Regions from separate parts of the Homo sapiens genome. Here regions 2, 3, 4 and 5 are each linked to region 1. The links are contacts of gene promoters, found by promoter capture Hi-C in blood cells and fetal thymus (Javierre and others, 2016). All regions are on one chromosome and are shown on one strand. The core of a region is centred on a gene start or on the middle of the fragment in contact, and the rest is flanking DNA. Distances in the headings are between cores, read along the strand shown.

Region 1 (3,458 bases), core at 253-2,752:
AGGCTGCAGCCTTACTTACCTGGAGCCCAATGCCTGCTCAAGCATAACTAGGTCTTGACATGGTGAGATCAGCCAGGTTGGGGAAAGAAGTTTTGAAGCAAATAGGGCAGTCTGCAGGGCCCTGGCCCCAGTGCTGGCAGGGATATTCCCAGGGACAGGAAAAAACTACAAGCAACTGGCCCCACAATCTCCCACATAACAAGCTGTGAGAAGTCAGACAGATTTGTCTGTTCAGTTCAAAGCATCCTCCTTCCTCGTCCCATCTCCTAATCTCGCCCCATCCTATCAGCTAAAAGAAAAAGGCAAATGCCTGAGGCCTTCTAGAGGCCTTTCTGTACTCACTTTGTAACCTATGTGGTTCCACATTGTTCTTTGAACCGTAACTACCCAGGGGCCTGCTGGCATCCATCTAAGCCTATCTCTAGCTGGGATTCCCTGGCTCCCTACATGGTTAGAAAGAAAGTCACCTCTTGCCCTCTTAAGGACCTCACTGAGGCACAGACTACAATGGAGACACCAGGTGGCCAGAGTGGCAGGCAAGAGCCCATGTTGCCTTACAGGGAAATCTGAGCACGCATGCCTTGTCCAGGGTGAGAGGAACGAGGGCCCTCTGCTTCCCTCAAAGAGGGGATAGGGGAAATAAAGTGAGCATTTGGGCTGAGGAGACCAAGAGGCCAAGTCTTGAGGTAAATTGGGCTCAGGTCAGCTAAGAAGGATATACAAAGCATACCTCAGCCAGGAATTACAGTTTTGGGGTTTTTCCCCCCAAGATTCTCGTGCGTTAGCCTCCCAAGTAGCTGGGATTACAGGCACTCGTTACCATGCCCGGCTAATTTTTGTATTTTAGTAGAGAGCGGGGTTTCACCATGTTTCCCAGGCTGGTCTCAAACTCCTGACCTGAAGCGATCCGCCCACCTTGGCCTCCCAAAGTGCTGGGATTACAGGCCTGAACCACCACGCCCGGCCAGGATTTGTAGTTCAGGAATTGCAGTTTAAAAAGAACAGGAAGAGGATTCTGTCAACCGGTTCAGAGGATACGAGAGAGGGGGCTAAAGAGTGACGAGGAAAATAGCAGGAAGGGTTGGGCTCGTGCACCGACGGGGCCCAGGGGAGTGAGGGGACAAAAGTGTGAAGCGGACACAGAGTCACCGGGCCAGGTGAGGCCCATGGGTCAGTGGGGCAGAAGGGGAAGGAAAGAGCCCGAGAATGGGGAGAGATTCAGGGCAATGCAGAGAGACACGGCAGGAAACCCAGCCAAGGCTCGAGAGAAGTTGGGGATTTGTGGGAGGAGAGGGGTGGCCGCGGATTGGCCATCGCGAAGAGAGGCCGCGCCCCCTAGCGTCCCTCCGGGATGAGCCAGAACCCTGCCCGGGCGACCCTGAAGCTCTCCAAGGACCGCCCCGCCCAGCGCGGAGTGCAGGCGCCGGATTCCCTTCTGTCGCGCGGCCTTATAGTTCCGGCTGTGGCGCGCGGACGGAAAGTTTATGCCGACGGAAAGTTTATGCCGACGGACTGTGTCCGGCGATGGGCACGGGGTGAGTGGGGAGGCCGAGGGCCCGGGACTGCCTTTCGCTGCTTGTTGGGGTTACAGGTGAAGGGGTTATGGGTGAAGAACAACCCAGGGCCAGCGCTTGGCCTTCCCGCCACCGTGGCGGCCGCCCCGCGCTGTCTGTGAGGCGCCAGTTCCGGGGCGCTGCTCCCGGCCTCCCCTCGCTCTGAGGCTCGGGGTCCCCAGCTCCGCGTAAACTGCACGATTTCGCCCTCTGCTCAGCTCCCCTCTGCCCCCTCTTTCCAAGAGAGACTTCCAGATCCCACATTTTCTTGACTGATTTTTAAGGTAAAAATACATCTCCCAGATGTGATTTTCAGTCTGGACTTTTAGAGATGAAATTATATCTGAGAACTGGGGAGGGACTCCCGGAGGCTGACGGGAAAGCCAAAGAGCAGGTGAGGCACTAGAAATTCAGGTAGAATCCTGCTTTGAGAGCGAGACTGCTGAGAATCAGTTCTTTATGAATGAGCTAATTATCACCTTCAGGGAAGAATTACAAACGTCTAGCTGATGGACACTTGGTATTCAAGGCCAAATAGGTGGCTAGGGCCTATTTCTCAGACTGTTCCTGAGAAAGAAGAGCCCTAGTTGTTTGAACAGTACACGTGGGAAGGGGGTGGGGGTGGGAGACTTGGGGGCTCAGAATCCACCCAAGTGAGGAATACATAGTGTTGTGCTCACAAAATTGGTAGACTGTGGTGGGCAGGGATTCCCCCCCACCCAAGACGGAGTCTCGCTCTGTCGCCCAGGCTGAAGAGCAGTGGCGCGATCTCGGCTCACTGCAACCTCTGCCTCCTGGGTTCAAGCAATTCTCCTATTTCAGCCTCCCAAGTACTAGAACCACAGGCGCACGCCACCACATCTGGCTAATTTTTGTATTTTTAGTAGAGATGGGGTTTCACCATGTTGGTCAGACTGGTCTCGAACTCCTGACCTCGGGTGATCTGCCCGCCTCAGCCTCCCAAAGTGCTGGGATTAAAGGCGTGCCTGGCCTTTTTTTTTTTTAATCAGGCCTATACTGCTTGAGTGAACTATCCTTCAGGAACTTTCAGTTCCCTCCTTTACTCCAACCTGAGTACTAAATTGATCTCCCACGACTTTGTAACTGTTAATGAGGTGCATTTGGGAGTCGACACAAATGCATCACTTGGGAGAAAGAGCCAGCTCCAGAGGTGTCTTCAGAGAAGGCAAGACTGCCAGCTGTCATCACTGTCAACAGCAGATTTCACGGGCTGAAAGTGCTTTTTTGTATTTGATCTAAGTCTGTGTAAACTGTTTCCTCCCATTCTCCTAAGAGGTGAGGGCAGTACTCCTCATGATCCTCAACTTGTAAAAAGGCCTCCCTGCATGAATGGGACTACCACAGGAGCTGGGCAGACGTGAGGGAGTCCCCCATATGTCTGCTTGAATGAGGAGAAGAGGAAATGTGTTTCTGGTGTCCAGAGTTAACATTTATAATGTATTTTGCTAAATAATATATGGTATATCTGGTGATTTAGGGGTAGTTCATCAGTTGTTATCAAATTGTTGGGCACCTACTATGTGCCAGTTACTGTGATAAGTTTTGAGGAGACATCATGGGCAAAATGTGGCATGGTCCCTGCCCTTAGTGAGCGTATGTTATGGTCTAATATAGTGTAGTTGAACCAATATTGTGCAGGACCTCACTTTTTTTTTTTCAGTCGGGCCTATACTGCTTGAGTGAACCATCCTTCAGGAACTTTCAGTTTCTTCTTTTACGCCTATGCTTACAACCTGAGTTGTAAACATTGTTTCCATGAACCAGTGTATTCTGAGTTCGAAACAGCCTACTTACAAATGGAATTTTGGCTGGGCGCGGTGGCTCACGCCTGTAATCCCAGCACTTTGGGAGGCAGAGGCAGGTGGATCACGAGGTCAGAAGTTC
Region 2 (3,458 bases), core at 259-2,758, 480 kb after region 1:
AAAAATTAGCCAGGCATGGTGGTGGGCACCTGTAATCCCAGCTACTCGGGAGGCTGAGGCAGAAGAATGGCATGAACCCAGGAGGCAGAGCTTACAATGAGCCAAGATCACGCCACTGCACTCCAGCCTGGGCGACACAGGGAGACTCTGTCTCATAAAAAAAAAAAAAGAAAGAAAGTGGCCAGGTGTGGTGGCTCACACCTGTAACCCCAGCACTTTGGGAGGCCAAGGTGGACGGATCACCTGATGTAAGGAGTTTACGACCAGCCTAGCCAGCATTGTGAAACCCCCTCTCTACTAAAAACACAAAAATTAGCCAGGCGTGGCAGCAGGGGTCTATAATCCCAGCAACTGACTAGGGAGGCTGAGGCACCAAGAATAACTGGAACCTGGGATGCAGTGGTTGCAGTGAGTGGAGAGTGCGTCATTGCACTCCAGCCTGGGTGACAGAGGGACTCTGTCTCAAAAAAAGTGGGGGGTGCACGGGACTTGGTTGACCTGGATGGCATGCAAGGGGTGGGGAGGGACCAAGGAGGTGCTGGGTCTATGGGACTTGCTCCTATGTATCCATCAGTGATCTGGTTGGCGCCATGGAGGCTGGGGCGAAGGCGGAGGGGGGGTGGGGGGTAGCGGGGAGCTAGGTTGTAAATTGACAGTTGTCCCCAGGCAATCCCCTGGTATGGGAAAGTTCCAGAGGTCCCTGGTTTAAGCTTCGGTCCTTGGAACTAATAAGCGAACACATAATTAGATAAGCTTACAGTGTAGAGAGTGTCTGGTGGAGAGAAGGTAAAGGTTAATTGGATTTTTTTTTTTGACAGGTGTCATTCTGTCGCCCAGGGTGGAGTGCAGTGGCGTTATCGTGGCTCATTGCAGTCTTTACCTCCCAGGGCTCAGGTGATCCTCCCACCTCAGCCTCCCCAATGGCTGGGACTACAGGCCGATCTCGCCTGCCTCGGCCTCCCAAAGTGCTGGGATTACAGACGTGAGCCACAGCACCCACCCTATAATTGCATTCCTAAAGAGCTAAATAGGAGGTGGGGTGAAAGGAGAAAAGTAAAAATAATTCATTTTTCTAAGAAAATGGGTAGTTGGTCACACTCCTATTTACTAGGGCCTTTGCACATGTTCTCATCTGCACTGTGCTTCCCTCTCTTTTTCTATTTAACTATTTATCTTCCAGATCTCAGCTGCAGCCGCAGTTTCTTAGGATAACCTTCTCCAACTTCTCGAAGATACTCACCATGATTAATTGATTAGTGTGTTATACTAGGCAGATAGTTCCACGAAGAGAAGCTCTGTATCTCTCAGTCTCACTGTATGCGGAGTGGGTAGCTCTGCACCTAGGATGCTCAATAAGAACGGTATTTATGAACTGAACGACAGAAGGTTGAACGACTGCCCACTTATGCACTGAGCCTTCCGGAGGGACGAGTCTACAGGGGTCGCGCGTCGTAACGACGTCACTTCCGTCGGAAGGTTCTCATGAGGAGCCACTCAGATTCCTGTCACTTCTCAAAGCATCTCCGTCGTGAACATGGCCCTGCCACCATTCTTCGGCCAGGGTCGCCCAGGCCCACCGCCCCCGCAGCCGCCGCCTCCTGCTCCTTTCGGCTGTCCGCCACCGCCGCTGCCCTCCCCGGCTTTCCCGCCGCCTCTCCCCCAGCGGCCCGGCCCTTTTCCGGGGGCCTCCGCCCCCTTCCTTCAGCCTCCGCTGGCTCTGCAGCCCCGAGCCTCCGCGGAGGCCTCCCGCGGCGGAGGCGGCGCTGGCGCCTTCTACCCGGTGCCACCACCGCCGCTGCCTCCTCCGCCGCCCCAGTGTCGGCCCTTCCCGGGGACCGACGCCGGCGAGCGGCCGCGGCCACCGCCTCCCGGCCCGGGGCCGCCCTGGAGCCCGCGGTGGCCTGAGGCGCCGCCGCCGCCGGCCGACGTGCTCGGGGATGCGGCCCTCCAACGCCTGCGCGACCGGCAGTGGCTGGAGGCGGTGTTCGGGACCCCGCGGCGGGCAGGCTGTCCGGTGCCCCAGCGCACGCATGCCGGGCCCAGCCTTGGCGAAGTGCGCGCGCGATTGCTCCGGGCTCTGCGCCTGGTGCGGCGGCTGCGCGGCCTGAGCCAGGCCCTGCGCGAGGCCGAAGCCGACGGCGCGGCCTGGGTCCTGCTGTACTCCCAGACCGCGCCGCTGCGCGCGGAACTGGCCGAGCGGCTACAGCCGTTGACCCAGGCTGCCTATGTGGGCGAGGCGCGGAGGAGGCTGGAGAGGGTCCGGCGCCGCCGGCTGCGGCTTCGCGAGAGGGCCCGGGAACGCGAGGCCGAGCGGGAGGCAGAGGCCGCGCGGGCAGTGGAACGCGAGCAGGAGATTGACCGCTGGAGGGTGAAGTGTGTGCAGGAGGTGGAGGAGAAGAAGCGGGTGAGAGCAGCGGCCGCTCATGGGGGTAGGAGTGGTGGTGGTTGGAACCTGGAGCAGCAGGAGGCTTTAAACTTCCATTTCCCAGGGCTAAGCCTCTGTTTTACGCGCAAAATGAAGCGATAGCTAACCTTCCCAGCTCATACCACCATGTTAATTTTGTGTTAATGATGTGTGGTACACAAAAGTTCCAGGTGCACTGTAAAATCCTGTAAACACAAAGTATAGGATTACACGGTGGCACTGCACGAATGACAGGTCTCCCCTATCCTGCTCCAACATTGTCCACTTACTCTCAAAACCAGTAAGTGTCTAGTTCCTTGTGTCTTGTACTGCCCTAGGTGGTTTTAAGAATACAAAATACAGGCCGGGCGCGGTGGCCCACGCCTGTAATCCCAGCACTTTGGGAGGCGGAGGCGGGTGGATCACGAGGTCAGGAGTTCAAGACCAGCCTGGCCAAGATGGTGAAACCCCGTCTCTACTAAAAATACAAAAATTAGCCATGCGTGGTGGCGGGCGCCTGTAATCCCAGCTACTCTGGAGGCGGAGGTTGCAGTGAGCCGAGATCGCACCACTGCATTCCAGCCTGGGCGACAGAGCAAGACTCCGTCTCAAAAAAAAAAAAAATAGAGAACTTGGGGACCCTACCTCAAGGAATATATATACTCTAATTAGCTGATGGGGCAATAGTGATTTCCCTAGGATTCTTTTGTTTACAAGTTTTAAACCATGTATCCCCAGGTTCAGCAATGGTGTTTCGGAGCATTTACTATATATATATATATATATACACATACATACATATATATACACATACATATATGTATGTGTATATATATGTATGTATGTGTATGTGTGTATATATATGTATGTATCTGTGTATATATAGAGAGAGGTGTGCTAAGGTCATTACATATACCAGATTTTGAATCTTTATAACAGCCTTGAGAAGTAGGAAGTATTATGCTAATTTTACAGGTTAGGAAGTTGCATAGAGAGGTTAACTTGCCAACAGTCACACAACGAGTTTGTGGCAGTTTCCCATATTTGATCCCAA
Region 3 (3,458 bases), core at 357-2,856, 320 kb before region 1:
CAGGAGACCTGGGTTCTAGCCCCAGCTCTCCTAACAGCTCTGTTGTATTTCTGAACTCTGTGTGGAATGTGTGTTCTAACCCAGCCCTCAGGAAAGCAGTGGTTTGGGTGGAATGCTGTGTGCAGAGCTGGGGGGAGTGGGCAAAAAAGACACACTGGGCCTGGATGGAGAAGTGACAGTCCCTTTCCCTCCCCTCAGGGTGGCAGGGCCTGGACTGCACCCTGCCATGTCCCAGTGGGACGTGGGGCCTGAACTGCAACGAGAGCTGCACCTGTGCCAATGGGGCAGCCTGCAGCCCCATAGACGGCTCCTGCTCCTGCACTCCTGGCTGGCTGGGAGACACCTGTGAGCTGCCTTGCCCGGTGAGTGCCAGGGTGGGGAGGGACAGGTTGGGCTCCGCATCCCCTCACGCCCTTTCCCTGGTGTTAGTTCGTCCACAAGAGTGCACAGAGAACAGCACTAAGCTAGGTGATGGGACACTTGGATTTAGGTCACAGTCCTAGTCCTAACCTCTCTGTGGCTATTTTACTACTTTGGCCCTCATCCCCCTCGTCTATAAAATGGCAAATACTTGGCAGATGTGGTGACATGGCATCACTTTTCCCGTGCTGCTCTTGGTAAACATTATTGACTCTGGCACTTGAGCTCAAATGCAGCTTCAGATTCCTTCACAACCCAGTGCTACAAGACAGCCCTTACTAATCCATGAGAGTTGCCATTCGTTGGTAGATAATGTTTAAGCTTCCTTCTGGTTCCAACAGTCTGTACTTTTATGATCAGAGTGTGTGGTGACTAAAGCAAGCACTGTTCAATAATAACCACCCAGACTTAATCACTTCATCTTATAGGTCTGAGATACAAATAAGTTAAACCCACTGATATGATATTGCTGGATGAGCAATGCAGTCCTTAATGAGCAATTTGGAGTCCTGCAATCCTGGGTTCAAATCTTGGCTTTGTCACATCCTTTGTTACCTTGAGCATGTTACTTCACCTCTCTAACCTTGTTTCTCATCTTTAAAGTGGGAATACAATGGAATCATATCATGGAATTGCTGTGAGGATTAAGAAAAATTAAGTATATGAGGCTCTTGATACCTAATGAGCATATAAGAATTGGTGACTACCTTCTTCCCCGGCAACAAAGAATAAATCATAGTCATTCCTCACAGATGATCAATGTGTTACAATCTGCAAAGTGCACTTTCATTTACAGTTTTAGTTAATGATCATTACAGGCCTTTGAGCTTGACCACTGAGAAGTAGAGCAGGAGTATCACCTCCTTCTCAACCTCATACTCCTGTTAATGCAGCCAAATAATTCTTCAGAGTGTCTTCATGGCTGTGTTATCCCCACTTACAAAACGTGTCCCCATTGTGCCCCAGCCCCAGTCTCCCTGCATCTCTGTGGGGTTCTGGCTCAGTTTTGTCATCAAGATCCAGTAGATCTCACTGGACCCTCCAAAAGTAAAAATTAAAGAAAAGATCCATAGAAGTACACAAACCTCTGGAGGTTTGGGTCTGATCATTTTTCTCTCCCTGTCTTCTCCACAGGATGGCACATTTGGGCTGAACTGCAGTGAACACTGTGACTGCAGCCATGCTGATGGATGTGACCCCGTCACAGGCCACTGCTGCTGCCTGGCCGGATGGACAGGTAACCTTCCCTTGCTGTGCCACCACCCAGGTACTGTGAAACTGGGTTCTTGGTATCCTACTTCTCTTGACCGTTTTCTTCTTCAATACCTCTCTTCTTGATCCCTGAGTATGCATCTTTCCCTTTATCTGCTCTGGGTTCCAGTTCTCCATTCCATTTAATTCAAGTAAATATTTATTGAACATCTATTAGGTATAAGCTCTGTCCAAGGCACTGGAGTCACTCCAGTAGGTCAAAAGCTGACATATGGTTGGTGTAAGTGCTCAATCTAGAGAATATGATGGAGAAGGGGACAAGGGCCTTTCTCCTTAGTCCAGTCTCAGAATCCTGGTCCTTATATCTATCCTGTCAGCCTGCCTCCTAAATACAAGGTGAATCCATCTACTTCTCTCCATCCCACTGCCACCACACGGTCTGCTGGGTACCATCCCGCATCTGGCACTGCCTTGGCCTCCGCTCTTGCCCAGCTGCATTCATTCTGCACCTGGTGGCCAGAGTCAACTTTTCAAACCCAGATCTGCCATTTCAGTCCCTGTTCAGAATGCCTCAGTGGCTTCCCACGACTCTTACATAAAATTTTAAATCCTTACCATGGCCCAGGGCCCACGGGATCTGGCTCTGCCTGACTCCACCTCACTCTGTTCACTTTGTGGCTCACTACATTCCAGCCACCAGGGCTGCAGTCTACTTCTTCAGGAAGCCAACCACCTTCCTGACTCCAGGCCTTTGCACATGCCATTCCCTCTGCCTGGATCATTCCTTCCCCTTTTCACCTGATAACTCCTTGTCTACCAGATTTCAATGTAAAGCTTTCTTCCTCTGGGAAGGCACTTCCCCTGCTACAATACCCACCCCAACCTGACCAAGACAAAAGCACTCCCTTTATTAATTCTTCTACCCTACACTTTTCCTATTGTGGTACTTAAATCAGAGTTCAATGACAACTGTGGTAACTGTTTATTATCTGCCTCCCTAATGTGGCCATCAGCTATATGGAGGCATCTGCCTTATTCACCATTGTATCCACTGCCTGCCACACACTGAGATATGGATAACACGGTAGTTAAGAACCCAGCTCTGGAGCAAGACTGCTGGGGTTTATGACCTTGGGCAAGTCATTTAACCTCTCAGGGCCTGAACTCTCCATCCATAAAATACAGATAATTATCCTTGCAACTACAGGGTTGTTTTGAAGCTTAAATGAGTTACTACCTATAAAGTGCTAACAGTGCCTGGCACATAGTAAGTGCTCAGTAAAAGCAGGCCATGAATACAGGAAGTGCTTAATAAGCATTTCAGAAGTGAACCTACTAGCCAGTCCCAAGGTGATGAGCAGCAAAGAGAAAGAAATATAGTCATTTCTGGCAGTATAGGTTCTCAGATAAATAATTAACACCAGGTTGCTGCACAGCCTGTGTTCATAACCAGAAAGTTTCTAAGCAGCCAAGAGCCAGGGACATTGCTTCCTCTGCAGTATCTCCAGCCTGGCTTCCCCTGCCCTGCTGGCTCCTGCCCGTCAGTAAAGAATAAGGCTCAACCCTGGTCACTGGCACCCTAGAATCTCAGCAGGAGCCAAGTGGAAATCAACTTTAATTTTTCATTGCCTTAATTTTGAGTGAGCCAATTAAGATTTTAATGACATCTAGTGCTTAAAAATTCTGTCTTTGGTGAACCACCTTTCAGCAAGGCCTCTGCTGTTCTAAACCTAATTTCCCCAAATGTGGTCCTGAAGTCTTTTCAAAGAAGTGATTGATGTCCTGAGGTTTGTCATGCAGAAGGGGGCCAATGAGAGACAGAGATG
Region 4 (3,458 bases), core at 716-3,215, 300 kb before region 1:
GTGGTGTGAGTCTGGTCCCCACCATCATGTCCCACCCTATTCTTCTTCCATATTGAGAAGCACCCAGCTTGAAGGGACAGGGTTATGAGTTCTGAACATGGTTTCCCCCAGGGAGAAATTTTGGCTCTCACAAGCAGATGAAGCCCAAGAATCCCTTTCCATTACTATATTAGGGCTAAGTCCCTGCTATGACCCAGGGACCATAAGGGAGAAAACCAGGGCCAGGGTGTAGGGATTCCAGATGGAAGCAAAAGACACACTCACCATCTGGATAGGAACCTCTGCTTGACCCAGGCCCTACCAAGGTGCTCCTTTCAAGGGCTTCTTCCCCCTGCCTCCTCCCTGGTGGAGGAGCACTAATTCCTGCAGAGGGAGGGAGGGAGGGAAGGAGAGGGGAAACAAGGCAGATGACCTTGGCTCTAACAGAGCCCCTGGCCCCGCTGGCCCTGGCCCCTCTGGATGCTATACACAGAGGCCCCCAAGTCCTCCCAGCCTGCCTCACCCTGACCCTGGCCCACTTGTGTACTTCCTACCCCCTTCCCCTGCTATACCAGGGCCCTGGGAATAATGGCTCCTCCCTGTCATTCCTCTCACTAGACTCCCATTTCCAGATCAGTGCCCTGGAGGCCAGGTACCCGCCCGAGGACTTCTACATTGAACTTAGACACCTCAGCCGCCCCGCTGAGCCACACTCACCAGGTCAGACCCCAGCCCTACCCTCCACCCCCTCATGCCAGACCAGACCCAGCACCTGCCCTAATCCCCATCCCTGCACCTTGACCCCCACCCTGTGGTCCCAGAACTCTCCCTTTTAAGCCCTCTTCCCTCCCAACATGTCTACCAGCTCAATCCCCTATCTAAAGATGGAAACCTGTCTGGATCTTCCCCATCACCCATTCTGTTCCCATAGTGAACGGTGGATGTGAACAAACAGGCTATTTAGGGTGGAGAAGATACAACAAAACTGCCCTCCCTACAGGCCACAAAATACAATCCTACACCTTTCAAAAATGACTTGGGGATGGCGACATCTTTGGGGTTCTCTGGGCCCTGTTGGAGTGGATAACAGGGAGTTAGCTCTCTGGCCAATAAAGTCCAATGTCTCCCAGAGACTCCAGAAACCCCAGTGGCCCAAGCCAAGCTTTCTCAAATCACAGGGTAGGGTTGTCAAACAGGGATCTGGAGAGGCTGGGGCAGGATGTATCAACCAACATCACCTGTACTCATGTACTGAGTACAGCCTGGGCTGAAATCTGGTGGCTTGGGAGACACACACACAAGAGACTTGGAAAGTTAGCCCTGATTATGGGAACATGTGGGTAGGAGTTACAGAAGGTATCATGGGAACAAGTGCAATGAATGAACAGAGAATGTGGCCTCCCTACAATGTGGCTCCTCTGGGGCACCCTGGGGCAGGGCCTTGGTATACCAGACAACTCTAGGCCTGACCTCAGGCTCTAGGTGGCTTCTAGAACTCTAAGGAAACTGAGCTGCTCTACCAATCCCTGCAGGTCCCTGGGTCCAGTAATACCAGGAAGGGTGAATGTTCTGAATTCATCTGCCCACTGAGCAGGCATGGGCTGCATGGACCCTGGGCCTATACTCAGGAGGCTGTGTTATTAGCTGTGGGTCCCCTGGACAGTATCTAGGGCATTTAATAACCCCACCAACTACAATCTCTCCCATTCCAGCATATACACACACACACAGCCCCACCACCACCACCCTGTATCTCTTTCTACAAGGGAGTATCCTCTGAACTAGGCCAGATTTCTCCCTGCTTTACAGATCTCACTCTTCAACTAGCGTAGCCAGAGCGCCATGCGCTGGCATTTGTCTTACACCCAGGCAGGCTGGTATCCAGTGAGAGAGAATACTTGGAGAGATCTGGGCTCTAACTGTAACTCAGCTTCTCACTTGCTAGTGTGGTTTTGGACAAGCCACTGTTGCTCTTTGGGCCTGTTCCCTGTTCTGTAAAAAGGAAAAGTTAATACCCTAGCCAGCTTCCCTCAGGAAGGGCAAAGGAAGCCCTTGTCTGGCATAAAGTGCTGAACTAATGCCAGCATATAGGCAGTTGCAGGCATGATTCTGAAGGACACAGGTACCTATAAGCCTCTCAGAAAAAACAGCAAATTTGAGGCTGGGTACGGTGGCTCACGTCTGTAATCCCAGCACTTTGGGAGGCTGAGGCAGGCAGATCACGTGACGTCAGGAGTTCAAGACCAGCCTGGCCAACATGGTAAAACCCCATCTGTTAAAAATACAAAAAAATTAGCTGGGAGTGGTGGTGCATGCCTGTAGTCCCAGCTACTCAGGAGGTTGAGACAGGAGAATCGATTGAACCTGGAAGGTGGAGGTTGTAGTGAACAGAGATTGCGCCACTGCACTCCAGCCTGGGTGACACAGCGAGACTCCATCTCAAAAAAAAAGAAAAAAAGAAAAATAGCAAACTTAAAAGAAAAACTTGGGCCTGGTTCTGCCATATCTCTCAGTAATATGTGGAACGTAGGCAGATAGGAGTAGACGCTTTCAAATTCAACATGGGAACTCTACGTAGAGGAGCGATAGCAACAGGGTGGTCTTCAGTGTCAGAAACTGGGAAGAGTCAAGGAGAGTCAAACTGTATTTTAGTAAGTACTTGCTGCAGGCCTTGCTTGGTGCTGTGTCCTCAGTTAAAAGCTAGAAGAAAAAATTGCTCTGACTTTGAGCCAGAGTCATTACTGTCCCAACCTAGAAATGCCAAACAATTTCTTTTCTGGGATCACCAGCAGCAAAGAACCCAAGCTTAGTCCCTGAAGCCTCTGGCTGAGGCTCAGGGCCATCATGCATTGTTGGAGCCTAGGAAAAAACTGACAGCCGAAAGGTAGAAAGAAATCCTTGGGGCTGAAAACACTGGTAATACTTTTCAAAAACAATTCTACATTATGTGCAAATGGCACACCCCAAAAAATGAGTAACTAAGAGAACTGGCTATGGGAGGGAATGTCTGTACATCCTACAAAGATGACTAATCAAGAACCTCAGCCACCTGTCTCCCTCTGTTTCTCTCTGGCTACCCTCAGATAAGCCTTGGATCCAGGAGAGGACAGACAGGACCAGAGCTGAGAGGTGATAAATACTGTCTTCAAACCCATGCCAAATTCCAACAGAACTGTGATTTGTAATGTCATACAACTTTCCCTCAAGCCAAGAACTGGTTCTGCTTCATTCCTTATCCTATACCCTTGGAGCCTGGAGTTTCACCTGCAGGGAATGGCATCAGAACAGCCTTTTATTCCTTCCTGAAAGACACTCCCCTAGGGTGAAGGTTAAAGGGAAGGAGTGCTGAATATGCCGGGGGTCGCTGTAGCTTATGAGCCTTTTAATAATTCCTATAATCAAAACAATTTCAGATGGATTAAACCCAGAATCATTTATCAAAACAATTTCAGGTAGATTAAACCCCCAGAATCATTTTC
Region 5 (3,458 bases), core at 402-2,901, 280 kb before region 1:
GGGTCTGGTGACACTGTTATATATGAAAATACACACTACTTTCCTAATGTTTTTGGACATACTTTTTCCAAGGAAAGCATAATTGAACTGCAGTTCTAAAATCAAAGCTGAATTCACACACTGATGCTCCCAATTCAATGTTTACTCAGTAATGCAAGAACCTATGCTTTTACATCAGGATTCCACGGCTGCACCCAAAGCACTCAAAGGAAAAATGTAATCTGACAGCATAAGAAATAATCCCCCTATAACTGTTTATTAGAATGTGAATATAATCCAAATCAATAACTAAAAAAAAATCAAATTACAGAGCATGCATAAAATACAAAGTAGCAATTTACAAATAGATAATATTATCTTCATAACTAATACACTAAAATAATAAAATGGCTATAGAAGAAAACCAAAATGACTGACTACAGCAATGCCTTCCGTGTGCCCCACACATCATGAGCACCGCAAGAGACAAAAGATTAACTATGAAATATAGTAATCTAAGCAAGCCCACACATACATATTTTTGGGGATTTCCCACCATCCTGAATAGTATCACTGCAGTTGACACAACTTCCAGGAAACTGCAGAGTAAGTGCTTAATATTATCCACGAGAAAGCAAAACTAAATATTAGTGTGCACATTTCTGAATGAGAAACTAATTGCTTCATTGATTTCAACAATGTAGTGGAAGAAAACTATTTCAGATCTCTACAATGCCTAAATGCATTCTATTTAAACTCAAGGTACTATTTCATTTTACATACTAAAAGAATACATGCCTTTAAGTGGTACCACTTGAGCAGAAATTAACCTCTCACTGTACTCTTCAGACATACTGAAACCAAAGATTTAACTGGACTATATTCTATAATATACTGCAAAACTCAAATATTAGCATTGTTAAAATAATTATCCATGCCTGCTGGTGGATATGGTGATAAAACTAGGTTGTATTTCACTTACTGGAAGGTTCTAAGACAAAATTAACACTTCAAAATTTGACACTACCAGCATTAAACCAATTATTGCCTGAGCAATAAAATGCCACATAATCTACCGCTTGGAAATTATTATAGATCATTTAAATCTTTTGGGCTGCCTGATCATTGCCAACAGAGGCACCCGAGATGGAATACCACAAGTCTCTTCAGTTCCCAGCCTACCAGGCAGCACTGTTTAACTTATGGCCCCACAACCATACTACTAATGAAACCGTAACAATCTTTTGTGTTTACTAAGAGAATTCTCCAGAAAAAGTGCCCCCCTCTCTAATCAACTTTGATGCTTACAAAAATTAAAAAACAAAATTTACTCAACTACATAAACCTATTAAGGCATTTTAGAAATTCATGTCCAGAATAATGGAAAATTTTCAAGCTCTCAAAATCCTGCTATGTTTATAGGGCAATTCTTAGATTTGTGGAAATGTACACTGCACTGAGAGAAGAGTGTATTACCTATAAGCTGCTCTGTGGCAAAATGGTAGCTTATTTCTAAGGTCTTCTTAGTTTGATTTGATCAAGACCAATAGGTCTGAGCTTCAAGTGATCAAGTTCTATTATGTCCTACATACAGTGACAGGCTTCCATGATGAAAAGTAAACAATAACTGAGGAATCCAAACATTCAGTTTATTAAACTAAGGCTAGTGAAGCCATAGCATGAAAAAAAGCTGCAGTCATTCGGGACAAGTGGATGATTTTATAAAGCTAAAATCAAAAGACTTAGGACATGGAAAAATTCATAAGTATGAAGTAATAAAACACAAAAGTGACACAAGAATTACAAATATATTTAAATCTCAGACCTGGGAAATGGACTATACACAGCCTTCTAGGGGAGAAGAGAAATGCCTTAGATGTTCTGACAGCACTGCACCTTTGGCTTGTTTTCAGTGGTTGGTGGAACATGAATAGGAACCACATTGTTGCTTGGAGACATGTCATTTTCGCGTCTGTCTGACATTTGCTTCTGAGAAACAATGCGGTAAATCTCTGAAGGAAAAAAGAAACCACAATACTTAGTGTGAATAAACCTATCATAGTTAGGATAAAAGATACATAAAGGTAGGAGATATATTTGCATCAAAGTCCCTAAGGAAACTGAACAGAGAATACATAAATTTAAAGTTTTATTTTCAAACAGCCACTGATTAGATTCAACCCTTTATTTTAACAATTGCCCTTTGGGTAAGAAAAGAAACAAAGGTTTTTCCATGTCAGAGGGAAAGGTTCACCAGTCAAATAAATCTTTGTTTAAAGAGGTAAACCAGGCCAGGCAGATCACCTGAGGTCAGGAGTTCAAGACCAGCCTGACCAACATGGTGAAACCCTGTCTCTACAAAAATACAAAAATTAGCCAAGCATGATGGTGGGTGCCTGTAATCCCAGCTACTCGGGAGGCTGAGGCAGGAGAATCACTTGAACCCGGGAGGCGGAGGTTGTCGTGAGATGAGATCGTGCCACTGCACTCCAGCCTAGACAACAGAGCAAGACTCGGTCTCAAAAAAAAAAAAAAGAGGTAAGCCAATAGCATTACATTGTTTATGGACTTAGATTCAAAGTAAACCATAAGAGTATTTTCAGTCTACCTTTACCCCAAAAAACAAACAAACAAACAAAAATTGCCTACACACAATGACATTGTACCACACAAAAAATAAATAAATTTGCACTATCAGACGCATTCGGCAGAGTACATCTTAACAAACATGCTAAAATCCCAAACGATTCTTGGAAGGGAAAAAAAGATAATGTGTTTATCAGTGACCTCCTGAACAAAACTTAAATTGTAATTAAAGAATGATACAAAATAGGCAACTTAAGATGTTATATGTAAACTCTATTTTTATTTCATGACACTTATCAAAAATAATTTAGTGTCTGCCTCTTTTACTAAGTGTTAAACTCTGTAAGGATCAAAACTGTGTCTGTCTTACTGCTGTACTGCAACATATAACATGTGTTGTGATAAATAAATAACCGCATGAATGTCACTAAATTCCTCCACAATAAGTATCTGTATGTAACACGTTTGGTCTTATACTGCACTGCCTAAAAGTTGTTCCCTGTGACTAGATTATAAAGTCCTTAAGAACAGAGAATGTACCTTATTTTTGTTTACTCTCCCAGTTGTCCCTCCAAAAACACTACTCTCAAAAAGCAAGATAATTCTAAAAATGTGTCAAATTAACACAATTAGCCTCCTAATACGATGTACTAGGAAAGACACAATGTATTCCTATAAAGGACACCATGTATTCCTGACAAAAATATTTAAAACTAATTTAATCATGAGGAAATAATGAGATAAATCCAGACTGAGATGGGGATAAATGTTCTAAATTTGTGCTATCCAAGAGAGTAGCCATCTATTTTAATTAAATAAAATTTAAAATCCAATTCCTCATCTAACTAGCCACATTTCAAGTGCTCAATAGTAACCTGTGGCTACTTTATTCA

The links. The method cuts DNA at HindIII sites, captures the fragments that hold promoters and counts their contacts. A CHiCAGO score of 5 or more calls a contact.
Region 2: the fragment with the promoter of PDCD7 here is called in contact with the fragment with the promoter of INTS14 in region 1 in 6 of 17 cell types (naive CD8 T cells, M0 macrophages, naive CD4 T cells and 3 more); the score reaches 8.7 in naive CD8 T cells.
Region 3: a contact is called between a fragment that was not itself captured here and the fragment with the promoter of INTS14 in region 1, in 1 of 17 cell types (megakaryocytes). The highest score is 5.1, in megakaryocytes.
Region 4: a contact is called between a fragment that was not itself captured here and the fragment with the promoter of INTS14 in region 1, in 1 of 17 cell types (endothelial precursors). The highest score is 5.9, in endothelial precursors.
Region 5: a fragment that was not itself captured here is called in contact with the fragment with the promoter of INTS14 in region 1 in 5 of 17 cell types (total B cells, total CD8 T cells, fetal thymus and 2 more); the score reaches 5.8 in total B cells.

The regions. Positions count from the first base shown.
Region 1 is chr15:65,609,175-65,612,632 of GRCh38, reverse strand. It overlaps INTS14 (integrator complex subunit 14), which reads left to right and starts at 1,502. Exons shown (of 12, transcript NM_001394796.1): 1 at 1,502-1,535. It also overlaps a transcript of SLC24A1 not described here. RefSeq lists an enhancer at 1,425-1,584. The HindIII fragment of the contact is 5,572 bases long and covers 1-3,458 here.
Region 2 is chr15:65,131,858-65,135,315 of GRCh38, reverse strand. PDCD7 (programmed cell death 7) reads left to right here and starts at 1,508. Exons shown (of 5, transcript NM_005707.2): 1 at 1,508-2,404. The coding sequence starts at 1,535. RefSeq lists an enhancer at 1,223-1,322 and silencers at 1,613-1,822, 1,883-2,282. The HindIII fragment of the contact is 3,462 bases long and covers 756-3,458 here.
Region 3 is chr15:65,926,624-65,930,081 of GRCh38, reverse strand. MEGF11 (multiple EGF like domains 11) reads left to right here. Exons shown (of 26, transcript NM_001385028.1): 12 at 199-362; 13 at 1,555-1,657. Among named protein-coding and RNA genes, the nearest start is that of RAB11A, 59 kb to the right of the region's middle. The HindIII fragment of the contact is 1,725 bases long and covers 744-2,468 here.
Region 4 is chr15:65,906,275-65,909,732 of GRCh38, reverse strand. MEGF11 (multiple EGF like domains 11) reads left to right here. Exons shown (of 26, transcript NM_001385028.1): 23 at 598-699. Among named protein-coding and RNA genes, the nearest start is that of RAB11A, 39 kb to the right of the region's middle. The HindIII fragment of the contact is 1,643 bases long and covers 1,144-2,786 here.
Region 5 is chr15:65,886,234-65,889,691 of GRCh38, reverse strand. RAB11A (RAB11A, member RAS oncogene family) reads right to left here. Exons shown (of 5, transcript NM_004663.5): 5 at 1-1,991. The coding sequence ends at 1,852. Among named protein-coding and RNA genes, the nearest start is that of RAB11A, 18 kb to the right of the region's middle. The HindIII fragment of the contact is 7,470 bases long and covers 1-3,458 here.